Linked DNA regions of Homo sapiens: region 1 is linked to region 2. The links are contacts of gene promoters, found by promoter capture Hi-C in human tissues and cell types (Jung and others, 2019). All regions are on one chromosome and are shown on one strand. Each heading gives the region's core, a stretch centred on a gene start or on the middle of the fragment in contact. The rest is flanking DNA. Distances are from core to core; before and after follow the strand shown.

The links. The method cuts DNA at HindIII sites, captures the fragments that hold promoters and counts their contacts. A contact is called where the count stands out against the background at its distance.
Region 1: a contact is called between a fragment that was not itself captured here and the fragment with the promoter of PLEKHA7 in region 2, in 1 of the 25 tissues and cell types used here (liver).

The regions. Positions count from the first base shown.
Region 1 is chr11:16,751,337-16,756,272 of GRCh38, forward strand. C11orf58 (chromosome 11 open reading frame 58) reads left to right here. Exons shown (of 5, transcript NM_014267.6): 4 at 1,449-1,558; 5 at 3,535-4,936. The coding sequence ends at 3,768. Among named protein-coding and RNA genes, the nearest start is that of C11orf58, 15 kb to the left of the region's middle. The HindIII fragment of the contact is 6,533 bases long and covers 1-4,517 here.
Region 2 is chr11:17,011,656-17,016,611 of GRCh38, forward strand. It overlaps PLEKHA7 (pleckstrin homology domain containing A7), which reads right to left and starts at 2,759. Exons shown (of 27, transcript NM_001329630.2): 1 at 2,661-2,759; 2 at 2,470-2,546; 3 at 2,334-2,391. The coding sequence starts at 2,746. RefSeq lists an enhancer at 521-1,282 and a silencer at 1,167-1,461. The HindIII fragment of the contact is 16,980 bases long and covers 375-4,956 here.

The DNA of each region.
Region 1 (4,936 bases), core at 1-2,500, 260 kb before region 2:
CTAAAAAATACAAAAATTAGCTAGGCATGGTGGCACATGCCTATAATCCCGGCTACTCGGGAGGCTGAGGCACGAGAATCACTTGAGCCTGGAAGGCAGAGGTTGCAATGAGCCGAGATCATGCCACTGCACTCCAGCCTGGGCAAGAGAGCGAGACTCCCTCGAAAAAAAAAAAAAAACTTGCTTACTTGTGTGACATATTCAATCTGTCACCTCAGGGGAGAACAAAACTGTGTTCAAGTTGGCAGATAGAGTGGCTGCATTCAAAGCCAGACTAGTATTATGGGGGCCACAAGTGAACATTGGGATTTTTTGACATGTTTCAAACATTAGCAGAGATTTTAAAAGAGACTGAGCCAGGACCTTTTTTCTCCCAGCTGGCACATGATCACCTATCTCAGCCTTCAAAGAGTTTGAGTATTATTTTCCAGCCACGAAAGAGCCCCGAACTGGGAAGGAATGGATTCACAACCCATTTGTGAATAAGCCAGGTGAATCGACTTTGTTCATGCTAGAAGAGGATCAGCTGCTTAAGATCACAAATGATGTTGCCCTTAAAAGTATGTTTGAGACAACTTCACATCTCCATACATTCTGGATTAAAGACAAAGTGGAACATCCTGAGATTGCCACGAAAGCACTGGAAAGCCTGCTTCCATTTCCAACCTCCTGTCTTTGTGAAACAGGGTTTTCTGTAGTGACAGCAGCCAAACAAGATTACAGAGTAGACTGGACATAAGCAACACACTTAGGGTGTCACTGTCTCCCATCACCCCTAGATGGGACCGTCTAGTTGCAGGGAAAACAAGCTCAGGGCTCCCACTGCTTCTACATTATGGTGAGTTGTACAATTATTTCATTATATATTACGATGTGATAATAATAAAGTACACAATAAATGTAATACACTTGAATCATCTCAAAACCACCACCACCCCCCTCCATGGAAAAATTGTTTTCCACAAAACCGGTGCCTGGTGCCAAAAAGGTTGGAAACTGCTGCTTTAAACTTTTAAGTTGCTCTGATAAACTTGATAAGCAAAGAAAGGCATAAAGAAGAGTCAGTACATGACCATTTTATTTAGCCATTTGCTGAACAGAAGTGCCTAGCTTTTTTCACTGTTTTTGTTCAAAGATAGATAATTCTGTTTGTTAGAGAGTTTTTATTAGGTGACTAGAAAAAAATCTTTCAGGATAACATCTACTTATTATAAGTAAGCTAAAACATTTAATACCCAAAGTGCTTAGTAATAAATATTTATGCTATCTCAACATCAGGCATTTTATTTTCTATTAGGTAACCACCTATGGCATAAATTCTCAAAAGTCATAGTAAAATTAGTCACAATTAGATAAATCAGCCCTGAGTATAATAGCATCTGTATTATGGGTTTTTGTGTAAATTATTAATTTGACTGAAACATAACTAAAGTATCCTGGACATGCAGGGGAAGAAGACAAGAAAATTAATGAAGAACTGGAGTCTCAATATCAGCAAAGTATGGACAGTAAATTATCAGGAAGATATCGGCGACATTGTGGACTTGGCTTCAGTGAGGTAGTAATTAACTTATTTTCATTGGGAAGATAATTAGTTTTCAATTTGGTACCATTTATTGCTGTTAGATTACCCTAGCAATCAAGAATCCCATGTAGAAAGCTTTCTGTATGTAGTTATCTTAAAAATAATTTTGTATATGCCCTACTGGTCTTGTAGATAATCAGGAGAGATGTTTCTAAGGATTTTGTGTGGGGTTGTTTTTTCCTTTTTTTTTGAGATGCAGTCTCACTGTCACCAGGCTGGAGTGCAGTGGTGTGATGTCTTCCACCTCGCGGGTTCAAGTGATTCTTCTGCCTCAGCCTCCTGAGTAGCTGGGATTACAGGCGCCTGCCATCACGCCCAGCCAATTTTTGTAGAGATGGGGTTTCACCATGTAACCAGGCTGGCCTCAAACTCCTGACCTCAGGTGATCCCACCCACCTTGGGCTCCCAAAGTGCTGGTATTACAGGTGTGAGCCACCATACCCGGCCTTTTATTTTTCTTTTGGAGACAGTCTCTCTCTGTTGCCCCAGGCTGGGGTGCAGTGGCTCCATCTCAGCTCACTGCAACTTCCACCTCCCGGGTTCAAGCAATTCTGCCTCAGCCTCCCGAGTAGCTGGGATTACAGGTGCATGCCGCCACACCAGGCTAATTTTTTGTATTTCAGGAGAGATAGGGTTTCACCATGTTGCCCAGGCTGGCCTTGAACTACTGAGCTCAGGCAATCCGCCCACCTCAGCCTCCCAAAGTGCTAGGATTACAGGCTTGAACCACCATGTCCAGCCTCACCTGGCCTGTTTCTAAGGATTTTAAAGTGTGTTTTCTGAAAGTGAAAATTCTGCTTAATCATTAGAGTACCTTTCTTTCCCCCTTTTTTGAGACAGGTTCTCACTCTGTCACCCAGGCTGGAGTATAGTGGCACAGTCTCACTGCCACCTTAGCCTCCTGAGGACCTGGGATATAGGCCTGCACCACCATGCCTAGCTAATTTTTGTATTTTTTGTAGAGACGGAGTTTTGCTATGTTGCCCAGGCTGGTCTCAAAACTCCTGGGTTCAAGCGATCTTTCCGCCTTCCAAAGTGCTGGAACTACAGGTGTGAGCCACCATGTCCGGCCAGGGCACATTTTTAATAGGCGTGAACAACAACATGCTCACAAGTTAAGTAAAATATTTCATTTAGGTTTAAAATAATGGTTTAGGAGAGCTTTTTTATTTTTTTTTCAGTTGTTTCCTAAGTGATCTCTTTTTATATTATGAATTTATGTGTGACTACTGTTTACTCCAAAGTAATACAATGTGCAAAACATTGATAACTGATTTCTACATAAAGGTCAGTGGTTAACATGCCTTATTAATTTAAAAAATTGTTTCTTTCAGGAAAATATAATACCATGGTTTTCAAACTAGGGGAGGGGAGATAGGTGTGTGATCTTCAGAGCACCTCCCCTCTTGTTTTCTTTTGTCTTTTAAGAAATGGAGTCTTGCTCTGTCACACAGGCTGGAATGTAGTGGCATGATCATAGCTCGCTACAGCCTTGAACTCCTAGGCTCAAGCAATCCTCCCACCTCAGCCTCCCGAGTAGCTAGAACTACAGGCATGCACCACCATGCCTGGCTAATTTTTTTCTTTTTTCTTTTTTTTTTTTTAGTTTCTCTCTCTCTCTCTCCCTTTTTTTTTTTTTTTTTTTTTTTTTTTTTTTTTTTTTTAAGAGACAGGGTCTCACTATGTTGCCCAGGCTGGTCTCAAACTTTGGGCCTCAAGCAATCCCCCTGCCTCTCAGCCTCTTGAGTAGCTGGAATCCCAGCCACAGGTATGAGCCACTGGGCCCAGCCAGACAGAGCTCTTTCTTAAAATTCTACTCAAGTCTTAAAGCTGTTGTTCTAATGGCTACAAAGTAGAGTGTTTCTAAGACCGACAGAACTTACGGTCTTTCTCAGATTTTGTATGGGCTAATGTTTATTTTTAAAAGAGCCTGTTGATTGATGTTTTAGGTAGAAGACCATGATGGAGAAGGTGATGTGGCTGGAGATGATGATGATGACGATGATGATTCACCTGATCCTGAAAGTCCAGATGATTCTGAAAGCGATTCAGAGTCAGAGAAAGAAGAATCTGCTGAAGAACTCCAAGCTGCTGAGCACCCTGATGAAGTGGAGGATCCCAAAAACAAAAAAGATGCAAAAAGCAATTATAAAATGATGTTTGTTAAATCCAGTGGTTCATAACTCCCAAACGCTTAGTCTTTGTATTAAAAGTAAGCCTTATTGTTACAATGCACAGTGGAGGACTGCTTATAGAGCACAGACCTTTGTATTATAATTTTTAAAAAGGCCCTTTTAAATAATTACAAAGAGTGTTTGCTTTCAAATGCCATGGGTTACACTTTTATGGGCATGACTATAACCATTTTTGTAAAGAGTAAGAGTTGTATAAAATAAGAAATAAATACAGTACTCAACTTCCTTTCATATTAGCATCATCAACCCTCTAATTCACCTTATGGGGGAAATGCTTCTTTTTGTTTGTGATAGCTATTTTATCATTTCCTTCATATTTTTCTCTTATAAAAATGTATTTGATACTGTGATATGTTCACGAAAAGTATTCTTTAATTATTCTTTGTTATAGTAGAGCTGTTCATTATGGATATTTCTGCTGCCAGTCACAATCTAAATTAATTTTGGCAAAAGATTGGGTACTTAGTTTCCTGTTACTGAGTTAGCTCTACTCTTTTGGACCAAAGCAACATGAGAGCAAGTACTTTTCACACTTGTTAAGATGGAGTTATAACTGTCATACATTTGGAATATTATGATCCCAAGTAGTCTTTTTATAATTTGGATTGTATCGTATGTTAGATTTTTGATAAAATTTGGCCAATTTTTACAGAAGAAATTCTCTGATCATTTAGTTCTGTCTATTTAGAAATATGTAAAACTGGATTTTTTTTTAAGTAATATGTGACCAAAGTTAATTTTGTCCCAAAGGTCTAAATAAAGAGCAGTTTCCCATATTTGGCTGTGATACCTTTATCCTCATTATCTACAAATGAGGAACAGGCTTACTGATAAGAAGCTGAAACAAGAAATTCTCTTCATTTTATCCCAGTGCTATTTTATTGATTAATTACTAAAAAGTATTACTTTCTAATTTTATTGCTGTTTCTGTTGGTGTGAGATTAGAATCATCTGACTGCTATTAGGTGGTTGATTTGTATAGCTGATTAACACAAATTGCATTATGAGCTAGTAAATGGATCTTTGGATAATGGGGTCCAAATTCTTAATGTTTATAAGTAACAAGTTCAAAGGCTTTAGTCACACCTGTTTGTGAGCTGAGCTATTATACATCTACATACTTAAAGGATGTATTTGGAGTGTTGGATTTTTTTTT
Region 2 (4,956 bases), core at 1,509-4,008:
CTTTGACCATCCAAAGCCTCAGAACATCTCTCTTCTGTCTGTACTCTCTTCCTAGGGGATTTCATCTAATCCCATGGCCTTGAATAACATCTATTATACCCAATGGGTCTCTTCTGTCCTCTCTCCCCACCAAGCTTCAGATCACACTATCTGACATACTCATATCTCAAATGTAAGATGGCAAAACAAGATCTCATGATTCTCCTCCACCCCAAACCGGCTCTTCCCATCTCAACGATATGAATGCTATCCACTCAGGTGCCCAAGCCCTGAGGAGTCATCTTTGCCTCTTCTCTTTCTCCCACAGACTATTCAGTCCATCATGAAGGTGTGAAGAGCCTATTTCCTAAACACAGCCTGAATGTGACCACTACTCCCTGTCTACTGTGCTACCACCCTCAGGCAAGCCACTTCTAACTCCTGCCTGGAAGAGGGCAACAGCCTCAGCTGCTCTCCTGCCTCCCCCTGCAGTGGCCACCTACAATCCAATCTCCTCACAGTGATCGTTCTAAAAACACACACCAAATCATGCCATTTCCCTGCTTAAAACCCTCCAATGACGTTTCACTGGGCTTAGAATAAAGTATGAAAATTCCTCACCCCGGCTCACAAAGCTTTGCGGCATTTACCTTTCTCCTACCTGTGACCTCTCCTCATGCCACTTTCTCCCTTGTGCACCACATTCCAGCCTTCCTGCTCCTTAAACTCCAAGCTCTTTTCTGCCTTAAGCCCTTGCCCTGGCTGTTCGCTCTTCCCGAAATGCTTTGCCAACTCATCATCACATGATGTCTCCTTCTTGTCATTCAAATTTTACTTTAAATGTTGCCTATTCAGAAACACCATCCCGATCTCCCAGTACAACCAAGCCACCCAGTCACTCCATGTCACATCACCTTATTTTAACTTTCTGCACAGTAGTAACCACGATCTGATATTATTATTTGTGTTTTTTACTTATTTTCTACTCCCTTCCCTCTCCTATTAGATTGCAAGCTCCATGAGCACCTAGAACTTTTCTGTTTTTTGTTCCCAATGCCTAGAACAACGTGTGAACGTGTGGCACACAGGAAAATTGTAATAACATCAACTGATGCAGTTATGAGCCAGAGAGGCCCACTGACAGCAAGACTCTGATGGCCCCAGCCAACTCCCCAACTTCACATACACACATATGAGGCAGGGCAATAGAACCGCAGCAAGGCCCTAGTCCTTAGGTCTGTAAATCTCACCCATCAGTATTTTCAACTATTATGCAAGAACCCAAACCAGAAAAGGAGGTTCCGGGGTTTTCTTGAAATAGGCTGCTTTATTCCTAACAGTAGTAGTTCTGACTCACAGTCGCCGAGGTACACCCAGTCAGTACTAGTCAGACCACCGTCCAGACCTTTGGCGAGCTGATTCATTCAGTGAACAAACATTTACCGAGTGCCTACTTGCTGTCCGGCACTGGGGCAAGGGGTCAAAGGCAGTGTCTGGCCTCCCGGAGCTCAGCAGGCAGAGGGAAACACGCTGCAACACAGACTCCCGCCGGAGTGGGAAAGCAAAGCCTGTACTGGCATAGGAGCCTGACCCGCGCCTTCACTTACTGCGCCCCAATCTGACATGGACTGATCCTACAGACCCAGGGTAACCTGGCTGGTGCGCCAACACTCCGGGGCTTTTGCGGAAAAGTCGCCCGTGGACTAACGGAAGCACCAGCAATCCCCCGGTTCAGCTCCGGCCGAAGAGACGCGGAGCGCTCGAGGAAAGTCATTGGTTGACCAGTTCCCTTCCCCACCCCCTCCCTCCCCGCAGGCCCGCGCAGTGGATGGAGGCCGGGGGCGAGGTTCCGACTCTCCAAGACCATCCCAGAGCCTGCGGCGGGAGAGGGGGCGTCCTCCTAAGCGAGATTCCCCTAGTCTCTCCCTCTCCCCACTCCAACCCCGCAGGCCCACACCAGGACAGAACTTCTCGTTCTACTCCTCCCACCCGAGCCCATCCAGGTCCCGGCACTCGCCTCTCCCGGCGGGGCGCAGCCCCAGACCCTAGAGGGGAGGCGTGCCCAGCCCGCACACCAGCACCCGAATCCAGCCGGATTGCAAGGTCCAGGGCGCAGAGTCTGCGGCCTCTTCCCCCCCGGCCCAGGTCCCCAGCGTAGGTGCGGCCCCCACCGCCTTCCTCTCGGAGGCCGCCAAACAACTTGGGCACACAAAACGTTGAGTGTGGCCGCGGCGCAGCGCGCGCCAACGAGCCCGGGCCGGCGGGAGCAGAGGAAGGGCGGGGCGCCCGGCGGGAACGGGGAGGGACCCCCCCCCCGCGGCACAGGTGCGAGCGCGGCGGCCCCACTCACTCACTCGATGAAGTAGCTGGCGCCCTCCTCCGTGAAGCCCTCCTCCCAGCCGCGGGGCAGGTCTGCGGAAACGCCAGAAAAGTCGGGTCAAACTTGGGCCGCCGCTGCGCGCGCCCCCCACCCGCCGGCCCGGCGCCCACCTGAGCGGATCATGTGGCCCGAGTTGACGGGCTCCCCGGTGCGCGGATGCAGCCAGGTCGTGCAGCGGAGCTGGTCACTGCGGGCAGAGAGGTGCACCTGTTAGCGCCGCCACAGCCCGCCGGGTGCCCGCCCGGCCCCCGCCCCCGCGCCCCCACCCGCGTCCCCGCGTCCCCGGGTCCTCGCGCCGCACTTGATGAAGAAGACGCGGCCATCCCGGCACACCCCGTAGGACCAATGCTCAGGTAAAGTGTCCCGCCCGACCGTCGCCGCCGCCATGTTCGCCGAGCGCGGAGCCGCCGCGGGGTGGGGGGGAGGGGGCGGGGGCGCGGGCAGGGGCGGAGGCGGGGGCGGTGGCGGGGGCTCGGCCTGCGCGTGGCCCGGCGGCGCCGCGAGGCGCTCCATCCAGGCGCGGGCTCCTGAGGGAGCGACCGCCCGGCCGGGTCCTGGCGCCCGGAGTTCGCAGCCGCTCCGGCCAACCCAGCGCAGTGCCCGCGGCCTTTGTCCCCGAGCCTTCCCCGCCCCCAGCCTGCTGGCACCGGCGCTCCCCTTTGCCCCCGAGGCCGGGAGACCCGGGCGGCGCGGGGGGCCGCTGGCGGGGGCCGCTGGCGGGCGCGCCTGGGCAGCTTCGGGGCGCGCGGTTGGACCCGACCAACTCCGAAAACGGCGAGCGCCCGAACGCTCAGTAAACCCCAGCCGACCCGCACCACAGAACTTCCCGACCCGGGAACTCCGCTTGTGTGTGAACCAAGTTAACACTCAGGTTCCTGCCATATTCCCAGCCTCCTTCTCTTCCCCTGTAAGGTTAATCGAGTCCACACGGGATTGTTGTGTAGATTAAATGAAGTAACAATCGCATAAAGTGCTTAACCGGACCATGGCATGTAGTAGGTGCTCTATCAACGGCAGGCCGAGCGCGATTTCATTTTCCCAAGTTTTCAGCTGGGATGTGAAACAGGAGGGAGCAGGGTTACCGCCACACACCACTGAGGTTGCAGGGATCGCAAGCTCTTGCCTTCAGTTTCTGTCAAGTAACAGAAAAAAGGGGTTTTGAGGGCTCGGCAGCACGTCCATCTCTGGAAGAGCGGTGGCCAGGCGGGGCCTCTAGGGGGCCCTGCAAAGCTCTTTGCAGTGGCGGCACCCTCTCATATTCGGGTCTTTACTCCTATCTTATCTCCTCGGGGAGCCCTCCCTGAGCCCTCTGCAAAGAAAATCCTTCCCCTCCTTCCCTCGCTATTTCATTACTTGTTTACATTTAATTGATATTTGTGTTTGTCTTGTTTGTTGTATATTAGTTCCAACATGTCAGCTGGATGAGAGAAGGGGCTTTGATCTACCTCATACACTGCCTGGTCTCCAATGCCTGGAACAGCACCTGACTCATGTATGCATTACGCATTCAATAACTGTAGGATGGGGTGGGGCACGGTGGCTCAGGCCTGTAATCCCAGCACTCTTGGAGGCCGAGGCGGGTGAATCACTTGAGGTCAGGAGTTCTATTCCAGCCTGGCCAACATGGTGAAACCCCGTCTCTACCAAAAAAATACAAAAGCTAGCCGGGCGTGGTGGCGGGCGCCTGTAATCCCAGCTACTCAGGAGGCTGAGGCGGGAAAATCGCTTGAACCAGGGAGGCAGAGGTTGCAGTGAGCCGAGATCGCGCCGCTGCCCTGCAACCTGTGCAACAGCGAGACTCAGTCTAAAAAAAAAAACTGCAGGATGAGTGAATGAAACATACTCCACACTCAGACTCCCGGCCACACACACACACACACACACACACACACACTGAGCAAAGACAGAGCAGCAGCTGGGCTCCAGCTGTTGTCAGGCCCAGCCTTCTCGGGACATAGGCTCTGATTGATGGGAGGAGGCGCGCCTGAAAGTGAGACTGTATGCAATGTGAGCACTAGTTATTCAGAAAGGTGCCCAAACAGGTGGAATTAGGCTGGACCCTGAAGGACTGGTTAGGTTTGACTGGGAAAAGAGCACTCCAGAGGGGAGGGATGGGAGAGCATGCACATAATTTTGGGAGGGCTGTGAGATGTTGATGAGACCATAAAGGGGCCCTTCCTTGGGAACAGACAGTGGTGTTGGGGAAGGAGGCATTTATGAGTTAGAAGAGGTAACTGGTTGCAGAGGACGGGGGACACCTGTCTGAAGGAACCTCCTGCCTCTGAGGAGGTTGTTGAGCAAATGAAAATAGGAAAGCGGTGTTTTGCTAGCTAAACATTGATTTTAAATAATACATTAAATGGGCAAAGGGTATGAACCCACAGTTAATAGAAAAGTAATACAGATAACTTTTAAGCAAATGAAAAGATACTGAGCCACTTCATAATAGAAGAACTGCAACTTACGGTGAAATACTATTTTTTTAGATGTCAGATTGGAAAAGATAAATTAGAAAAGATATTGGCCAGGCGTGGTGGCTCACGCCTGTAATCCCAGCACTTTGGGAGGCTGAGGCGGGTGGATCGCTTGAGATCAGC